3 separate regions of the Homo sapiens genome follow, and regions 1 and 2 are each linked to region 3. Evidence: promoter capture Hi-C in 16 types of primary human blood cells and fetal thymus (Javierre and others, 2016). All regions are on one chromosome and are shown on one strand. Each heading gives the region's core, a stretch centred on a gene start or on the middle of the fragment in contact. The rest is flanking DNA. Distances are from core to core; before and after follow the strand shown.

What was found. The method cuts DNA at HindIII sites, captures the fragments that hold promoters and counts their contacts. A CHiCAGO score of 5 or more calls a contact.
Region 1: a contact is called between a fragment that was not itself captured here and the fragment with the promoter of E2F5 in region 3, in 1 of 17 cell types (fetal thymus). The highest score is 6.6, in fetal thymus.
Region 2: a contact is called between a fragment that was not itself captured here and the fragment with the promoter of E2F5 in region 3, in 1 of 17 cell types (total B cells). The highest score is 5.5, in total B cells.

The regions. Positions count from the first base shown.
Region 1 is chr8:86,374,675-86,377,571 of GRCh38, reverse strand. The region is part of intron 3 of WWP1 (WW domain containing E3 ubiquitin protein ligase 1); the gene reads right to left. Among named protein-coding and RNA genes, the nearest start is that of WWP1-AS1, 32 kb to the right of the region's middle. The HindIII fragment of the contact is 215 bases long and covers 1,423-1,637 here.
Region 2 is chr8:86,502,261-86,505,407 of GRCh38, reverse strand. All of the region lies in intron 2 of RMDN1 (regulator of microtubule dynamics 1), which reads left to right. It also overlaps the pseudogene SLC2A3P4. Among named protein-coding and RNA genes, the nearest start is that of RMDN1, 4.9 kb to the left of the region's middle. The HindIII fragment of the contact is 3,916 bases long and covers 1-3,147 here.
Region 3 is chr8:85,175,465-85,178,623 of GRCh38, reverse strand. E2F5 (E2F transcription factor 5) reads right to left here and starts at 1,470. Exons shown (of 8, transcript NM_001951.4): 1 at 970-1,470. The coding sequence starts at 1,203. It overlaps E2F5-DT (E2F5 divergent transcript), which reads left to right and starts at 1,583. Exons shown (of 3, transcript NR_134311.1): 1 at 1,583-1,793. RefSeq lists silencers at 610-999, 1,010-1,539 and an enhancer at 1,640-1,809. The HindIII fragment of the contact is 15,711 bases long and covers 1-3,159 here.

The DNA of each region.
Region 1 (2,897 bases), core at 281-2,780, 1.2 Mb before region 3:
TGCCAATCAGATAAGGGTTAAGAACAGAAATGAGGATAAGAGTAAATATGCTAAAAATAAAAAAAAAAAATTGGCTTAGGGCAGAGAACCTCGGTTTACAGACAATAAACAGCCAGACTGCAATATTAGAGGGGTCTTAATCTGAGTACTTACTGTTTTTAAAAAGAAAAGAAAAGCCTGGGCGTGGTGGCTCAGCCTGTAATCCCAGCACTCTGGGAGGCCGAGGCAGGCGGATCACCTGTGGTCAGGAGTTCGAGACCAGCCTGGCCAACACGGTGAAACCCCGTATCTACTGAAAATACAAAAAAAAAAAAAAAAATTAGACAGGAATGCTGGCATGCACCTGTAATCTCAGCTATTTGGGAGGCTGATGCAGGAGAATCACTTGAACCCAGGAGGGGGAGGTTGCAGTGAGCCAAGATCACGCCACTGCACTCCAGCCTGGGCAACAGAGCAAGACTCCATTTCAAAAAAAAGAAAAAATCAATACAGAGGTCTTTGTAATCTAATAAAAGGAGCAACAACTTGGAGTCCTAAGACCTCAGTTGGTTTCTCATTATTAACCCAAGGCACTTAATCCCTCTGATTCTCAGTGTCCTCACTGACAAATCAGGAGTAGTAATCTTTATTGCAGAAGTTATTGTGAGATCAGTAAGACTGGTAATTTTAAGGTGACTTTTATTTTAAAAATTAGATCAACAAAACGGAAGACAAAGACAAGAAGAAAAGAAGGCACTAAAACCTGGTGCCATTTAGCACAGGTCCATGATCATTCTTTCCCAAAAGGATCACTGTATTTCAAAGGAGAGCAGCAACTGACGCTCAAAATGATAAATACTGTCATGGCATTGTTTTGGCTACTTAGACTGCCTTGGTCCACATCTATTTTCCAACTGGTTCTCCAGATTTGAGTCACCTGATAGTCTTTCAGTATGTTCTTTTTCACCTCAAATTAGCCAGATCAGGTTTTTCTTTTTCTTTTCTTTTTCTTTCTTTTTTTTTTGAGACAGAGCCTCACTTTATCCCCCAGGCTGGAATGCAGTGACGCCATCTCGGCTCACTGCAACCTCCACCTCCAGTGTTCAAGTGATTCTCATGCCTAAGCCTCCCAAGTAGCTGGGATTACAGGCATGTGCCACTATGCCCGGCTAATTTTTGTATTTTTAGTAGAGATGGGGTTTCACCATGTTGGCCAGGCCAGTCACAAACTCCTGGCCTCACGTGATCCACCTGCCTCGGCCTCCCAAAGTGCTGGGATTACAGGCATGAGCCACCGCGCCTGGCCTAGTTTTTTCTTATTTTACCTAAGAACTCTTATACATAGGTCAAGATCATTTGAAAGTTACACCTCAGGTGTACTGTCCATTGGTCCTACGCAAGTTACAATAAACTGAAAATGTAGTGAAAATAGGGCTCTAAGCTTCTTATACAGAGCAAAAGTAGAAGGAATTATGTAAGTGGTTCTTCAGTGGAGTACCTATCAGCTTCATCAGAACTGTTTCAAAAATAGATGCCCATTATTCACAGAAACCAAAATCCAAATATCCCTTATAGTTCAACCTTACAGTGAGAGAAATGCTATTTTAAATAACACTAAGATACCACTTCAGTGTCTAATTATGAACAATCCCAAAGCTTGACAACAGATTTTGGTTAGGCTTTGGGAAAACAGGCACTGTCATGTATAGCTGGTGTAGACACAAAATGGTGCAGACCCCATGGAGAGGAACTTGGCAATACCTGGCAAAATTACATGTGTCTACCCTTTGACCCAGCAATCTCATTCTAGGATCCTATCCTATTGATACATGAGCAGACATAAGAAACGACTTTTGTATGAAGTTATTTGTTGCAGCACTATTGGTAATAGCAAACAGTGGAACGCCAATGTCCAGCAAAAGGAGACTAGTTAGCTTTTTTACATCTATTCAACAGGATATGGCGCAATGATGAAAAAGAATATTCTGTTATGAAACAAACTCCAGAATAATACTGTAAAGTTAAAAAAAGCAAAGCACAGAGAAGTATGCAAGAATTAGGAGATTAAGAGGAGAGATGAGATACGTATACTGCACATGTATCTGCTTATATTTTCAAAAAGAAGCAACAGAAGGATAAAGCAAAACTAATAAAAATGTGAACCTACAGGGCAAGGGAGAGAAGTGGGAAAATGGGACCAAGTAGCCAGACCTCTCTAAATGTACCTTGGTTTTGACTCTGGGACTATGTAAATGTCTTACAAGGTTATAAAACAAAATTAAAAAAAAAACTGAAAACGATGAACTTAACTAATTATCAATTTGGTGATATAACCAAATAGAGAATTACTAAAGTACATTAAAACATGGTATTTTGATTATACGTCCTAAAGGGGGAAAACACACAAAGAAATCTTAAACTGCAATGAGTAGACCTATTGTTTTTGGTAATTTTTTAAATTACCTTTTTTTCACCTCCTTCTCCCTCTGTTTTTGGTAATTTTCATGTTATTTTGAACTGGTGTAGTAGGATAAAAACAGATATTATGATAATGTCATTTTGAATGGAGATTTTTTGATTAAGAGGAGAGAGTTACAGGCCAGGCACAGTGGCTCAATTTGGGAGGGTGGTGCAAAAGGATTGCTTGAAACAAAGAGTTCAAGACCAGCGTGGGCAACATAGTGAGACCCTGTCTCTAAAAAAATTTTTTTTTAAATTAGCCAGGCAAGGTGTTGAACATCTGCAGTCCCAACTACTTGGGAGGCTGAAGCACGAGGATCACTTCAGCCCAGTAGTTTGAGGCTACAAGGAGGTATGTTTGCGCCACCGTACTCCAGCCAGGGAGAGAAAGTGAGACCCTATCTCAAAAGAAAAAAAAAGATATGAATATAAAGTCAAATTAATTTAAATTTTGTTTC
Region 2 (3,147 bases), core at 51-2,550, 1.3 Mb before region 3:
CTTACTTTTCCTCTCCTATATCCCCTAGTGCGGCAATATTAGAACCCAAGGAAGGAAAAACTGGCAAAGTTGTCATATGCCAAGTGGCCATTGCCTCCTGAAATGAAGGTAGGTTCACTTGGTCTCTCCTAAGCAGAAGAGAATGTCCAGGAAATAAAATATTTAAAAAACCATTGAAAATCCAACAAACCCCAGCCTTGAGGTGCGCATGGAGTGCGTGGGATAAGAAAGGAATCAAGTAGCAGCATTCAGAAGCAGTCCTGGGTTCATCCTGATGAGGTCTCTCATTCAGGGAGAGGTGGCTTTCCCATGCTGGGAGGGAGGTGGAAGGAGGCATGACTTAGACATTGGTGGTGGTCTCCTTAGCAGCCTGGATGCTGTTCATCTCCATGATGCCATCCTTCCCAGATCTATCTGCACCATGTGCCTGCCTTTTAAAGGCCCATGTGATATCCTCAAAAGCCCTGCCATGGGTCTCAGGGACTTTGAAGAAGGTAAAGGTCAAGAAGGTGATGAGGAAGCTGGCGAAGATAATAAAAATACAGGCTCCTAAATAATAAGCAGCAGAGGGGAAGAGCAGTCCGACTAAGAAGTTGGAGGTATAGTTGGAGCAGCCGGCCATTGCAGTCGCAGCTGGGCGGGGGCCCTGGCTGAAGAGTTCGGCCACAATAAACCAGGAAATGGGACCTGGTCCAATTTCAAAGGCCACAAAGACCAAGATAGCCCCGATAAAGACAAAGCTCATCCCATTATACTCATCCTTTAATAACAAACAGTCATGAGCATGGAACAAAAAGCCATCCCTCCAAGGCCTATCATATGCAGGGTCCGCCTTCCTGCCCTTTGCAGCAGAAATAGGGAAACTACAGTGAAGATAGTATTAAACACACGTGCACCAATGGTGGCATAGATGGGCTCTTGAACACCTGCATCCTTGAAGATTCCTGTTGAGTAATAGAACACAACATTGATTCCAGAGAGCTGTCGAGAGAGCTGGAGCACAATGGAAATGATGATTGGCTGTTGGTAGCTGGATACTCTAAAGAACTCCAGCACGGTGACTTGCTTTTCTTGTGACATCCTTGCACTCTCATCTTGCATCTCCTGGTTGTCTTGGGATACATCCTGGGTGCCCCACAACTGCTGGAGGATCTACTTAGCATTCTCCTCTTCTTTTCTGTTAATGAGCAAAAACCTGGGACTTTCAGGGCAAAATGGAAGGGCTGCACTTTGTAGGATAGCAGGAAGGATGGTAAAGCCCAATAATACCGGCCATAGCTCTTCAGACCCAAGGATGAATTTGAATTCCAGACCAAAGATCTGGGCCACCAGAATTCTGACAATGATGCCCAGCTGGTTGAGAGTGCCAAAGGTACCCTGCAGGGCAGTAGCTGAGATCTCTCCAATGTACATGGGCATAAAACCTGTGCACAGTCCACAGAAGAGGCCAATAACCAAGCAGCCCAGGGTCAGCATTTCAACCAACTCAGCTGCTTTACACAATCCCATAAGGCAGCCACCAGAGACAGCCAACAGGTTGACGATAAGCATTGAATTGCACCTGTCAAAAAGTGGTTGATAAAGAGTCTAACGGAAAAGGAGCCAGTCATACCAACAATGGAGAATATGGCCACAGACAAGGACCAGAGGGACGTGAGCAACATCTCAGAGGGAGGGATATTTGCCTGGTCACTCAAAGTGTTATTGATAAATTCCTTTATGATCATCTCAGGAGCACTGATGACTCCCGTGTTGTAGCCAACTTGGAAAGAGCCAATTGTAGCAACTGTAATGGCAACGATCAGAGCTGGGGTGACCTTCTGTGTCCGCATGGTCCTAATCTAATTCTTTTCAAGTCTTCAATAAAGATCTAGGAGTGTGATTCCAGAGATAACTTTTTCAGGCAACAAAACCTTCAAAATGTCCTTCTCAGAAACGAGTTTTCTCCAGGTCCTCAGGAATGCTCTAAACTCTCACCATTACAGCATCTCTCAAGTTATTTTTGTTATTTTTTTTTGTTTTTTTTTTTTTTTTTTGTTTTGTTTTGTTTTGTTTTGAGACGGAGTCTTGCTCTATTGCTCAGGCTGGAGTGCAGTGGTGCGATCTCGGCTCCCTGCAACCTCTGCCTTCCAGGTTCTAGCCATTCTCCTGCCTCAGCCTCCTGAGTAGCTGGGATTATAGGCACGTATCACCATACCTAGCTAATTTTTGTATTTTTAGTAGAGACGGGGTTTCACCATGTTGGTCAGGCTGGTCTCAAACTCCTGACCTCATGATCTGGCCGCCTCGGCCTCCCAAAGTGCTGGGATTACAGGCGTGAGCCACCGCACCTGGCCTAACTTAGTTATTTTTATATAGGTAATGGAGCTAACATTGCTGTGGTCTAGATTATTTTCTGCCTTTCTCTATGTGTCTGTCTAATATCATGTATATATATTTTTTCCTAGAAATTAGAGCTGCCTCAGTGATGCTTTATTAACGGTTTATATTTTTGTAGAGCCCTTAACCTAAGAAGAATATTCTTTTACATTTTTAAAGGGTTGAGTTTGAAGAGTTGGGGGGAAGAAAAAGAACATGCTACAGAGACCATGTATGGCTCACAAAGCCTGAAATATTTTATTCTCTGGATCTTTACAGAAAAAGTTTGCTAATCCCTGCTTTATAGTGACAAAATGAAACCAATCCCGGGGTGTTATATTCTTCTTGATTTGGTTAACAAAAGGCTCTAGTACTTTGAGATAGATAGATTTTATTTACAAACAGAATGCTGCTTGGTAAGTAACAAGTTGAAAGCGAAAAAAAGAAAAATCCATCAAATTTCTTATTGGCGTAATATAGATAAGTAAACGTATATTAAAACTTGGCTGGGCATGGCGGCTCATGCCTGTAATCCCAGCACTTTGGGAGGCTGAGGTGGGAGGATCACTTGAGCCCAGGAGTTTAAGACCAGCATGGGCAAAGTGGTCTTAAACAAAGTGAGACCCCCATCTCTACAAAAATTCAAATGATTAGCTGGGTGTGTGATGCGTGCTTGTCCCAGCTACACAGGAGGCTGAGGCAGGAGGATCACTTGAGTCCAGGAGGTCAAGGTTGCAGTAAGCCATGATCTCACCACTGCACTCCAGCCTAGGCAACGGAGCAAGACCT
Region 3 (3,159 bases), core at 221-2,720:
AGTCAAAGGGGATTTGCAGTGATTATTGGGCAGTTAGTGTTTTTTGTTTGTTTGTTTCTAAAACTTTAGTTCTTAAACTTCGCGCGGAGTGACCACATTCTCATTATCCTGAGCGCTGTTGAATTCTTCCAAATCCTTCCTAGATCGGTTAAGTCATTCTGTATGACAGAACAGCTTTTGATGCCTGCTCCTGTTTGAAAAATCTGAACGCTGTAAAGGACGACGCAGGGAGAGAGTTTACTGAGCACTTCCACCTCTTTGGGTGAAAGTTGTAAAATATCCCCTTTTCGTGTGACAGCAGATCTCACTTTTGGAAACCCATGACACATGCCAAATGAAGTCACAAATCAAATACCCCTCCTAACTATCAGGGTGATGAAAGAAGTGCACAAGGAAGATTTAATACTATTTTATCGGGGAGGGGCGTGGAAAGAAGTACTCTTTTTTTTTTTTCTTTCATCTGGTAGAGATGGCAGACTGGGTTTTGTTTTTCCTCCTTTTTATTTAAACTACAGGAACATGGTTCCAACTGGAATCGCCTATTAAAACCATCCATTCTTAACAGCAAAATCGATATCCACGGTGTCTCCGGGCAAAGCGCCCGTTACCCCGTGAGCCTCTGCCACAGGTGGACGCAGAGCAACAGACACTCGGTTACCCTCAGGTCCCTGCGCCCGGAGACAGAAGCCACGCGGGCGCGCTCGAGGTCCTGGGCTCTTTGTCGAGAGCCCAGCGTGGCGCCGGGCCCCATTGGTTACGCGTCCGCTCGGTGCCATCCTGGTCCCTCGTCCCTCCCCCATCCCGGCGTCCACGACCCGGGCGCAGGCCACATGGTCCTCGGATTGCCCGGTCCCGGGTCCCCGCAAGGCGCGTCTACACCACGCCGCTAGACCCACGCGGCGAGGGGCTGGGCTTCCCCGGGGGCCACGGGTTCCGAAGTCCGCCCCCGTCCCCGCCTCCGGAGCTCACCGCTTTGAGATCCAGAACGCCGTCCTTGGCCTCCTGCAGCAGCGACACGAACTTGGTAGTGAGCAGCCCCAGGCTCTTCTCGTGCCTGCTGCTGCCGCCCCCGGCGCCCCCGAGCTGCGGCGGCGGGGGCGGCTGCGGGGCTTGCGCCTGCGGAGGCTGCGGCGGCGGCCGCTGGCCCTGCCCCTGCCCTGCCGGCGCCTGCTGGCCCGAGCTCGCGGGCTCTGCCGCCGCCATCGCGTCCCGGCCCCGCGGTGGTCGGGCCCCCGCGCACTTTCGCTCGCCGGCCCCGCCCGCGGCCACCTGCCGGGTCGGCTCCGCTGCGGCCGCTTCCCCGCCCGCCGAGAGCGGTAGTGCGGGTCGCTGGCTGCTGCAAACAACAGGTGTGCGGCGCCCACGGGAGTCTGGGCCGCTTGTCACGCCGGGCCTCCGCCCCCTCCCCAAGCCCGGGGAAGCGTGAATGAGGCCCACGACCGAGGGGGGAGGGGTGGAAACGAGGAGAAGGGGCTGCGAGGGGTGGGGACCTGAGTTTAAATGGCAGGAAGTGACGCCGCCGCCCGCCGTTGCCTAGAAACACATTTTTCTGTAGGAAGGAGGAGCGCACGAGGAGGAGGAGGGGTGTTGGCGCGTGTGTTTCACACTCGCCTCCCTGGCGTTCGCGAGCTGACCCGAGGAGTGGTAATCTCACGCGGCAAAGCAGGGAGGAAGAAAAAAAGGAGACAAAAGAAAAAAAGACTTTTATCTGGGCAGAAAGTCACAATGCCTAGCGGCCAAACGTTTGTGAGCGGTGAAGTTGGTTGACTGCTCAAGTTTGCAGAGCTTCAGCAGTAGGTTACTTTCTCTGGACGGTTTCTGCTATCTTTGCTCTTTTCGAGCTCTAGCATCGTTTGCAAATATTTCAATGACTTGGACCAAGTGCAGAGTTTTACTTCATAGCTCACCCTTTTAGATTCGGAGTACAGAAAAAGGCATCGTGGAGTTTTAGGGTTGGTTTTCATCAATCCTTTCCAAGGCCTTTACTTTCTACATGGAGAAACGTGTAGAGGGAGAGGTTGTGAATTGCCAAAGACATGCCGTTAGATTCCAGATCTCCTGTGTTTGACCAAAGTTCTTGACCAAAGTTCTTAATATCTTATTTGAACCAAATTATATTGTATTTGGAATATTGGGTAGCCACAGGCCCTTGGACTTCAGTGATATTCCAAACTATTGATGGCAAATGACATTATGGAGATCTGAGTAAAAGAAAGTCGTTGGGATTTTTTCCTCATTATATTACAAACTCTTGAGAATCCAGACTAAATTTTAAATGACTTGTTGTCACACTCAACACTTTGAATATAGTAGACAATAAAGATTAGGCGAATGAGACCAGGCGCGGTGGCTTACGCCTGTAATCCCAGCACTTTGGGAGGCCGAGGCAGGCAGATCATTTGAGATCAGGAGTTCGAGACCAACCTGGCCAACATGGTAAAACCCCGTCTCTACTAAAAATACAAAAATTAGCGGGGGGTGGTGGTGCCCGCCTATAGTCCCAGCTACTCCAGAGCCTGAGGCAGGAGAATCTCTTAAACCCAGGAGGCAGACGTTGCAGTGTTGCAGTGAGCCGAGATGCCACCACTGCACTTCAGCCTGGGCAACAAAGCAAGACTCTGTCTCAAATAAAAAAAAAAAAGATTAGGTGAATGAAAATTCTATATGGCAATAATTAATCAAGAAGATTTCATGCAAGAAAGATTTTGCTTAATTTTAAGTAACAATAAACTAACAAAAAAGGTCACTGAAGCGACATCAAATACAACAGCATTAACTAGTAAAGCTGAACACACCATTTATAACACATCATAGGCACAGAACTTTATAACCTTTATTAATAACCTATTCATAATAACCTTTATTTTAATCAAATCTATAAACAAAACTTAAAATTGAAAATCTGAAGTAAAACATGAAAAATTCAGTTGATACAACCATTTTCCAACAACCTATCCAAGAAAGGCTATCTTTATTTGATTTGACATGGGACACATCATTGACAAGTTTTGCAAATTTATTTTATTGATTATTGTCAAGTAGTATTTCTTAGAACATACTGAATTAGGAAGATTCTAATTTGTTTTTAACTTTATAACAGAACATTGTGTTATATGTGCAGGGACAGGAATTAATAACACTAAATGTATTAATATTTTT